3 separate regions of the Homo sapiens genome follow, and all the other regions are linked to region 1. Evidence: promoter capture Hi-C in human tissues and cell types (Jung and others, 2019). All regions are on one chromosome and are shown on one strand. The core of a region is centred on a gene start or on the middle of the fragment in contact, and the rest is flanking DNA. Distances in the headings are between cores, read along the strand shown. Region 1 holds the start of ATP8A2 (ATPase phospholipid transporting 8A2). Region 2 overlaps NUP58 (nucleoporin 58). Region 3 overlaps ATP8A2 (ATPase phospholipid transporting 8A2).

The links. The method cuts DNA at HindIII sites, captures the fragments that hold promoters and counts their contacts. A contact is called where the count stands out against the background at its distance.
Region 2: a contact is called between a fragment that was not itself captured here and the fragment with the promoter of ATP8A2 in region 1, in 2 of the 25 tissues and cell types used here (dorsolateral prefrontal cortex and heart left ventricle).
Region 3: a contact is called between a fragment that was not itself captured here and the fragment with the promoter of ATP8A2 in region 1, in 2 of the 25 tissues and cell types used here (bladder and heart right ventricle).

What each region holds. Positions count from the first base shown.
Region 1 is chr13:25,370,640-25,373,809 of GRCh38, forward strand. ATP8A2 (ATPase phospholipid transporting 8A2) reads left to right here and starts at 1,335. Exons shown (of 37, transcript NM_016529.6): 1 at 1,335-1,649. The coding sequence starts at 1,574. The HindIII fragment of the contact is 5,522 bases long and covers 1-3,170 here.
Region 2 is chr13:25,305,453-25,308,575 of GRCh38, forward strand. It overlaps NUP58 (nucleoporin 58), which reads left to right. Exons shown (of 16, transcript NM_014089.4): 2 at 2,354-2,496. Among named protein-coding and RNA genes, the nearest start is that of NUP58, 5.4 kb to the left of the region's middle. The HindIII fragment of the contact is 6,165 bases long and covers 1-3,123 here.
Region 3 is chr13:25,457,331-25,460,527 of GRCh38, forward strand. All of the region lies in intron 1 of ATP8A2 (ATPase phospholipid transporting 8A2), which reads left to right. Among named protein-coding and RNA genes, the nearest start is that of ATP8A2, 87 kb to the left of the region's middle. The HindIII fragment of the contact is 5,097 bases long and covers 1-3,197 here.

The DNA.
Region 1 (3,170 bases), core at 85-2,584:
GGATGTTTGTTCTTAAGAAAATTAGAAGCAGAGGCCGGGGGTGGTGGCTCACGCTTGTAATCCCAGCACTTTGGGAGGCCGAGGCAGGTGGATCGCCTGAGGTCAGGAGTTCGAGACCAGCTTGGCCAACTTAGTGAAACCCCGTCTCTACTAAAAATACAAAAATTAGCTGGGCGTGGTGGTGGGCGCCTGTAATCCCAGCTACTCGGGAGGCTGAGACACAAGAATCACTTGAACCCGGGCGACGGAGGTTGCAGTGGGCCGAGATAGCGCCATTGCACTCCAGCCTGGGCAACAAGAGCAAAACTCTGTCAAAGAAAAAAAAAAAGTAAAAGAAAATAAAATCAGATGCAGAGGCCAGGCAGGAGGAGCTCAGGCCGCACTGCTGTCTTTGCTAGCACAGATTCTTTTTGCTGAACTCTGTACTACTCCTTGTCAGTCCCTAATGTTAATTTAGGTTAAAAGAAATGTAATGCTCGCATCAGTAAAAGCAAGGTCAGACTTTCACCTGAACAGTTTTATTTTTGTTTTGTTCCGTTTTTACTCCGAGGTCAGAATGTCATCAGGCACAATAAAGATAGCTTCTTATCTTCATGGGATTGTGCCCAGAAAGACCAAGCACAGTCTAAACATTACGCGATAAGAAAAAACAAAAAATAGATCAAGTGACCTTGGACAAGTCATCTTACCTCTCGATGGTTTTGTTTTATGAAAGAAGGTGTGTGTGTGTGTGTGTCGATGGGTGTGTGTGTGTGTGTGTCGATGGGTCTGTGTGTGTGTGTGTGTGTGTCGATGGGTGTGTGTGTGTGTGTGTGTGCGTGCGGGGGTTGAGAAGGTTGCTGTTAAGGTTCCCTAGGGCTACCTGCAGCTTTAATATGCGTAGTTAGAATGTCAGGCAGGTTGTGGAGAGTGGGGGGCTGGAGACCCCCGACTTCTCTGAGTGCCAAGCCACACATCAGACACCTTGGAAATAACCCTTCCACGAAGTCCCTACACAGATCCCACCAGGCTGGGCACGGAAGAACAGAAACTGCGAAAAGAAAGGGACTGGATGAGTCCTGGGGAATCACAGCGCCTCCACTTGCACAGGACAAGTGACAGGCAGGTAAATAGGTAGCAGACAGGCAGAGACTCCGAGTCCCCCAGGTGCACCCCTCTCCTGGAAGAGCCCCCGAAAGTACAGGCCCAATCTCCCACCCCACCAAGCCCTCCCCATCGCCTTCCCCGACACCTAAAAGCCCCGGTCCTGCGTAATATTGCGGATCCCTCCCAGCCTCCCGTCCGCTCCTCCTCCCGCGGGGCTCCGCTCAGGGCCGGTCCCCCGCCCCCACGCCGCAGCCCGGGCCAGCGGGGCCCGCCGCGGTGGCGTTCGCGGATGCTGCCGCATTGGCCGCTGCGGCACGGACGGCGCAGCCTCGGGCGCGGCCCGGCACAGGCGCCGGCGGTCCCCGCCAGCTAGCAGCCCGGCGAGGCGCTGGCCCACCCATGGTCCTCGGGCGGCGGCCCCTGCGCCCAGCCCTGCGCGTAGCCTCCGTCTCTCGCCCGGGGCCGCCGAGCCCCCGACACGGGCGAGATGCTGAACGGCGCAGGCCTGGACAAAGCTCTTAAGATGTCCCTGCCGCGGAGGTCGAGGATCCGCTCGTCCGTGGGTGAGCTGGGAGGGGCGCGGCGAGGGAGGGTGGGCCCGGGGCGGGGGCGGCGCGGGGCGCGCCTGCGGTTATGCGACACTGCCCCGCCCGCGCCCCGCTCCCCTCCCTGGGCTCCCTGGGCTCTCTGGGCTGCAGGATCCGCCGACGCGGCGCGCTGGCCGCACGGGGGCTGGGCGTCGCTGCACCTGCGGGGCCAAAAGGCTCCAGGCCGGGGCGAGGTGAGCGGCGGGCGTCAGAGACCCCCGGCTCGTCCCTGTACAGATGTGTGTGTGTGTGTGCGGCCTCCCTGTGCGCGTGCCCGTGCGCCCCTACGCGCGGATGCGGCTCAGGGATGCGACCTAGGCGGCAGTCACCGCGATGGTGGGCACGGTTTGGCGGCGCAGAGAAGATGCAGCCTTCCCTGCCGGCGGCCGGCACCGCTGTGCTGCAGAGCTCAAAAGCAGAGGGGGAAAAAGGCATCCGAAGGGTCCCTCGAGTGATTCTCACCACTTGGAGCCCCGGGTCCTCGCGCGCTCACAGCGGCGACGTACTGGCTCATAACCATCCGTGCATACAACCATCTGGAGACGAACACACACACGCACACGCGCGCGCACACACACACACAGGTACACACACACGTACACACGCACGCGTACACATACCCTGCCTGCAGGCGCCTGGGTGTTGGAACTCGAAACCTAAAGCCAAACACGCATGTACCATACCCGACCACTCACACTGTTAGAGGCCCGCGTTCTATGATTATAGAACACATTTAGAAACTATGATGTCGTGGAGCTGGATGTTATGTGGCTATGACACTTGATAGGGTTACCTAGACCATTAGTTAATGCAGACGTAAAGAGGAGCCCCAAAAATGATTTCTTACCGTTTCAGGACTGCGGCAAGTTTGCAGGTAGATCTTTGACATGAGGAAGGTAGAGGGTGTACAGTTTGGAGCTGGGGTCACTTGTCTTCGTGCTTTTTTATTTGTTTTGAGAAAATAGGCACATAAAAATAAGCGACTTTTGTATTTCTGTAGTTGAGTAACGTGAGAGGGAAGCAAGCTTATCAGGTAATTTAAGCCAATGTTTGTTAAACTTGGGTAAAGTCAGGACACTTTCACATTCATTTTGAGGAGAATCCCAGCCTGAAGGGGTCACGGGGTGCAGGGTCAAGACTAAATAGCAGGGAAGAGCTGTGGCAGAGAGACAGTGGGAGGGCGCAGTCATACAGGTGTGAGAATTTCCCAAGGTGGAGGCAGCCTGAGGAGACCTGGGGACACCCTCTGTACCTTTGCAGGTGGGGCCAAAGGCATTTGCTTATGATTTGGATGTGGGGCTTCAGTACAAGAAAAGAATCAAAGATGCCCCCAAGGGTTTTGGTCTGAGACACCGGAAGAATGCACCCCTTGCTGAGATGGGGAAACTGCGGAGGACCAGGGTTCTCTTTTGCGGTAAGGGAGGGTGTGAAGAATTTGGTCTGAAATGCCTACCATAGATCCAAGAGGAGATGATTAGTAGAGAGCTGGATTTATGA
Region 2 (3,123 bases), core at 438-2,937, 65 kb before region 1:
AGCCACCCGGCCTGGTCAAGATCTGTGTTTTAATTGTTAGCGAGAGCTTACCGCCCTGCTTTGTCTCCTGCCTCGCCTTCATATGCCCAAGGTGCACACAAACACATTTTAAAAATCAGTACTTCTCCTTTTACCTACTCAGTATGGATGGCACATCTCAAGTTCTACCCTTAATAAGCTCCTCCACCTCCATTCCCCTCACAGTGATTAGCTCTTTGCCTCAAACTTCTGCAGTATCTCTTTGCCATCGTTTGGTACTTGATTATAATCTTACTTATAGTAATTCTAAACTTACTGAAGGTGTGTACATTTCTACTGCTTGAATTATCTCCTGCTTGAGTATTTCTTTTCCTCCTTGTCTCCCAGTGTTTGCAAAAATTTGAGTGGCTTCTTAAGCTGATTATGAAATTGAAGACACCCGGACCCAAGTAACTTGGAGAACTCTTCTGGCTTGGAGTACAGTTATTTGTGTTGTTTATCCCCCTGGTAAACGGCATGTTCCTTGACTAGGGGACATCTTTCTGCTCCCTTGCTATTCCTGGCATAACGCCTTGTACATAATATGTTTAGTTAAATTTATAAGTATCCCTAATGATAACAGTCATAACAACATTTATTGAAGTTAATTCATCCTGTGCTCTGAACCCTTATATTTAAAAAAAAATTCTGCTGGCCGGGTGCGGTGGCTCACGCCTGTAATCCCAGCACTTTGGGAGGCCGAGGCAGGTGGATCACGAGGTCAGGAGATTGAGACCATCCTGGCTAACATGGTGAAACCCTGTCTCTAGTAAAAATACAAAAAATTAGCTGGGTGTGGTGGCAGGCACCTATAGTCTGAGCTACTCCGGAGGCTGAGGTAGGAGAATGGGGTGAACCCGGGAGCCGGAGCTTGCGGAGTGCCACTGCACTCCAGCCTGGGCAACAGAGTGAGACTCCGTCTCAAAAAAAAAAAAAAAAAAAAAATCTGCTAAGTGGGTACTGTTAATTCCTGTTTTGCAGATGAGGAAATAGAGGCTCAGAAAGGTTAAGTAATGGCACACAAGTACCAGAACATGGGGGGATTGGTACTGGAACCCAGCCACACTACTGCTGCCAGGGCTTTTGAGACTTTAAAAATGACATTGGGTTCTCCCATGGTGATTATTCTTTATGGAAGGGCAGCAAAGGAAATAATAAAGATAAATATGTAGGATAAAGAGAATTTGCCATTATGCTGTATAGTCTCCCTTAAATCTCCTACATAATTTTGGAAGTGTCAACTTGTCAAAATTTGCTTATTTTCACAGTTTGTCTTCCCACCTTTTCATAGCAAATCTGAACCCCTGAGTCTTGATAAGAGTAGTTGAAAAGTTGTGAAGTTTGTTCACTTTCACTTGTTTTTATCAGCTGTTCTTTTTTTAAGCTTTGCACTGTGCTCTGAAGAGTTTCTGTTAATGAATACATGATCCTGAGACAGGGTGATTTTGCTTTGCGTTTAACTTTTGCCAGGAAATGTCCCCACTAGTTTTTCTATGCTTTTTTTGGTGGTAAAATACCTAAGTCTATACTCTCCCCAACACCACATTGCCCCATGAATGTGGTAATGTAGCAATGGAAAGCTAGTGAAGATAATTTAAAATAACTTTTCTATGACCATTTAAAAATATGCTAGGTTTCAAACATTGGTGAAAGCAGAATAATTGTGATCCCTACTTATGATTACCTTGAGATCTGGAATCCTTATTGCTGTAGACTGCTTTTCTTGAAATCTGGTATTGTATTTTTTTTTTTTTTTTTTTTTGAGAGGGAGTCTCGCTCTGTCACTCAAACTGGAGTGCAGTGACACTATCTCAGCTGACTGCGACCTGCCTCCCGGGTTCAAGCAATTCTCCTGCCTCAGCCTCCTGAGTAGCTGGAATTACAGGCGTGTGCCACCACCACACCTGGCTAATTTTTGTATTTTTGGAAGAGACGAGGTTTCACCCTGTTGGTCAGGCTGGTCTCGAACTCCTGACCTTGTGATCCACCTGCCTCGGCCTCCCAAAGTGCTGGAATTACAGGCATGAGCCACCACACCCAGCCTGAAATCTGGTATTGTATTTTTTAAGACTACTTTTACATGTGGATTTATTTTTTTTTAAGACTACTTTTACATGTGGATTTATTTTTAAGGAAGAACAGAAACATATTTGAACTTGATGGGTTAAAGGTAAATTTATTTTTCTTTTTGGGTCCTATGACAATGTATTAGATATGTTATGTGAATGAAATTATCTTGAAGAGTTAATTTTTATTTTTCTTAAGTAAATATTGGCTCTAGTAGACCTCCTTTTGTGCATGTGATTTTTGTTTTGTTTTTGTTTCTTTAAATAAGCAACCCTTCTGTGGGGCTCAATTTTGGAAATCTTGGAAGTACTTCAACTCCAGCAACTACATCTGCTCCTTCAAGTGGTTTTGGAACCGGGCTCTTTGGATCTAAACCTGCCACTGGGTTCACTCTAGGAGGAACAAATACAGGTGAGGAGGATCTGATCACATTGTCAGAGAGTAGGCTTGGGATATTCTTTCCTAAATTGTGTCCTGTATCTCTCTTTACAAGGATCATCACTGGTAGTAGACCTTAAAAAATGGTAAATGCTAAGATGAAAAGAAATGCAAGGAATTGGAATTAAGGGCTAGTGATAGGCCCAATCATTGACTGTCATCTACTCTGATATAACGAAGGAAAACATACAAATATTAATTTAAATTTTTGGATTATATAATGTAGTGTTTTTCCTTAGTGGAGATTGTGGTTTAAGCCAGCTTTATCAATTTGGAACATTAACATACGTGAGATAATCAGCACCCTTACTGTAACATAATTTCTATTTTTTTTCTTTTTTTAGATACACAGTCTTGCTCTGTTGTCTAGGCTGGAGTGCAGTGGCATGATCATGGCTCACTGTAGCCTTGCAGCCTCTCGGGCCCAAGTGATCCTCCCACCTCAGCCTCCTGAGTAGATGGGACCACACGTGTGCACCACCACGCCTGGCTAATTTTTTTTTTTTTTTTTTTACTTTTTTACTTTTTGTAGAGAAGAGGTCTCCTCCTGGTCTTAAATTCCTGAGGTCAAGTGATCCTCCTGCTTTGGCCTCTCAGAGT
Region 3 (3,197 bases), core at 592-3,091, 87 kb after region 1:
CTTTGAAATGCCACTCTCATTTATATAAAGGTCAGATAGATGATTTATGTAGGTAAAAGGACATATCAATGATCATATAGATAAGGATCATATTAATGATTCTTATAGTAACAAAAAAATGCACCTGTGGGCATTGAGCTGGTTGCTTCATTACTCCTTGCCCCATTTTTATTATCTCTAAAAAATTATCTCTAAAAATAAGCATGCTCCTCATATGATTGTTATGAGGATTGGATGGATTTACACATACAGAATGCTTAGAACAGTGGTAGGCTCAACAATAGTTGTGCTTTTTACCACACTCATCTATGGCACCTTAGTGACATGGCAAAGACAACAAATCGACCTGGCAACCCTGAGTCGGTTGTGGAGGCCTTGGATTCAGATGATTGCATATGCATCTCTTTGGCAGTGCTCTTGCTTTTTAAAGATTTTCTCATATTTTAAACTTTCTCACTTCTGTGTCTGAGAAGAAAACGTGATACACAAAATGTCAACTCAACAAGAGAGTCGGGAAAAGCCATCCTACTGGGGAAGTCTATTTTGTGTCAGTGGAGTTGGGAACAAAAGTGAATGAGCTGGCCTCTGTAGTGACTTGCTCAAATCTGACTGCATGTATTTAGTGGGTTAAGACTGCTGATGGAAGTAGAGCATTGGGTTCATATGACCAGTGATTGTAAGCAAACAGGACAGGATAATTGGCATGAGAAACTGGGGCTATAGTTGAAGCAAATGAATGTGTTTTTCTCTTGTACTTGACTGTTGACTTCCGTCTGCTTGGAGCCTCCACCTCCCCAAGAAAGATTAGAAGGAATGTCAAGAGAAACATCAAGACGTGTTCATCGTATGTCTTTCAAAAATAGCAGGATTAGGCAAGCCAGCCTTTTGTTTACGAGGAGACTTTGTAGACTAATTCTTCTTTGTAATACATACAATACTTAATTGTATATATTAATCTGCCTTATATAGTTATATTATAAATATCTCACACTTACAAGAGTTGGATGGCTTGACTCTCAACATTTTCCACATTAAAGAAGAGATACCTAAGCAGGTTTTTTGTTTTTGAGATGAGGGTCTTTCTGTGTTGCCCATGCTGGCCTTAAACTCTTGGGCTCAAGCAATCCTCCCGCCTCAGCGTCCTGAGTAGCCGGAATTTACAGGTGCACTCGCCATGCCCTGCAGAAGCCTCATGTGTTAGGGCGCACCTGCAATTCCAGCCACTATAATTTTAAGGAGTGTTTGGAATCCAGAAGAATGGCATGAGGGAAGTGCATTAAAACACTTGCCTGTTTTTGATTTCCAGAAGGTGGAGTGGAAGGCAGGAGGAGGAAAGAAAGCAATGTAATGAGATACACCTTGATGTTTCTCTCCGTGGGGAAAGTTTTCCCAGTTGGAGAGATGAGGTGTGTGGGATAAGTGAGGATAATACTGAGGAGCAACAGGGAGGTCCCGTTTTCTTGAACTGCCTACTTGTGCTTCCCATGTGGTCTGGGAGCTAATCTGAAAGCTCCTGGGGCCTCTCTGGGACCTCGCTTGGTAGGGTTGTGGAATGAGGCTGACAGAAGGTGGCAGAGAGAGCACAGCAGGTGCTGTAGTCTCTGCAGAGGGAGCCCAGGTGAGGCAGAGCCATCTAGGGAACACAGATGCCCTTTGACAAAGCCAAGCCAGACCAGTCACAGACATAATCCAAATGCCAGCAAGGGGACCAGGGATGTCATTCTGCAGACCAGAGGAGGCAGAAGGCATTTATGTGTAAGGATCCCAACTATTCCCCATGCCCCCATCTCTACCCTCCATGGATCCAGCACCATTTTCAAGAGAGAAGCCAGAGGACGATGAAGTGATTTGGGAGCTAAAGCATCCTTATTCAAGGAAGACTGAATACCACTTACTTAAACTTTTCACATTGGACTGAGCTACCAACAAAACTGGACATTTCCATTTTTTCCCAGCTTTCTATACAGGATGATGCCTTAGGAGGTGGGTCAGATTAGTTGCAGACTAAATTTAAAGAATTGCATTTTTCTCTGTCCACTTAAGACAGAATGCGAAATTTTGTGTTCGCTTGATTCACTCGTCAAACATGTTTACTGAATGCCTTCTGCATCCTATTTCCTGGGGATGCAGAGGTGATGAAGATGAGCATGGGCCCTGCCCTCCTGGAGCTCCTAGAGAATGTTGGAAGACAGAAAATGAACACACACATTTTATGGAGTGGTATGTCCATGCAAGAAATAATGTGTGGTGTTAGGGAATAAGTGAGAAGGGGAATGCTGTAGCTAGGGCGTGGTCACAAAGTGCTTCTGTGGGGAAGTGACATTTAAGCTGATGCCTGAGTGACAGGAAGAAGTTAGTTAGCAAAGACTAGGGAATGACATTCTAGGTGAAGAAAAAGCAAGTACCAGGTCTCTGGAGAAGGAACAGAGCTGATGTCTTGAGGAAAGAAGGTCATCATGGGTGGGGTTCAGGAGCAGCAGGAGAGGGGTCACTGATGTCACTGGGGAGGTAGGCTGGCTATGGGGTTGGTTGCAGTGAAGCCATGAGCCTTTGGCCAAGCTGTGTGGGTCTTCAAAATGCTTAGGACAAGGTTGGATGCAGTGGCTCACGCCTGTAATCCCAGCACTTTGGGAGGCCGAGGTGGGCGGATCACCTGAGGTCAGGAGTTCAATACTAGTCTGGCCAATATGGTGAAACTCCATCTCTACAAAAATACAAAAATTAGCCGGGCATGATGGTGGGTGCCTATAATCCCAGCTACTTGGGAGGCTGAGGTGGGAGAACTGCTTGAATCTGGGAGGCAGAGGTTGCAGTGAGCCGAGATTGCGCCATTGCACTCCAGCCTGGGCAACAGGGTGAGACTCCGTCTCAAACAAACAAAAACAAACAAAGAAGCAAACAAAATATGCTCAGGACAGGCAAACCACAGCTTCAAAGGAAACCGCCCCTCTCCTAGGTTAGCTGTTCAAAGATGGTGTTCATGCATATCGAATCAGCAATGAGATTTTAAAGCTGGTGTCCCTAACTTGGGCCAGTGTTGGGGTCCTACGAGCAATGGAGAATGTCTATCCTAGCAACAGAGGAAGTTGCTAAGGAGAAGTAACTGGACTTGTATTTTTAAAACTCAACCAATCCAACCCATATGAAAAATTACTCTGAGTTGAGTGTTTGAAACATAGCTTTTCTTTTTTGTTGTT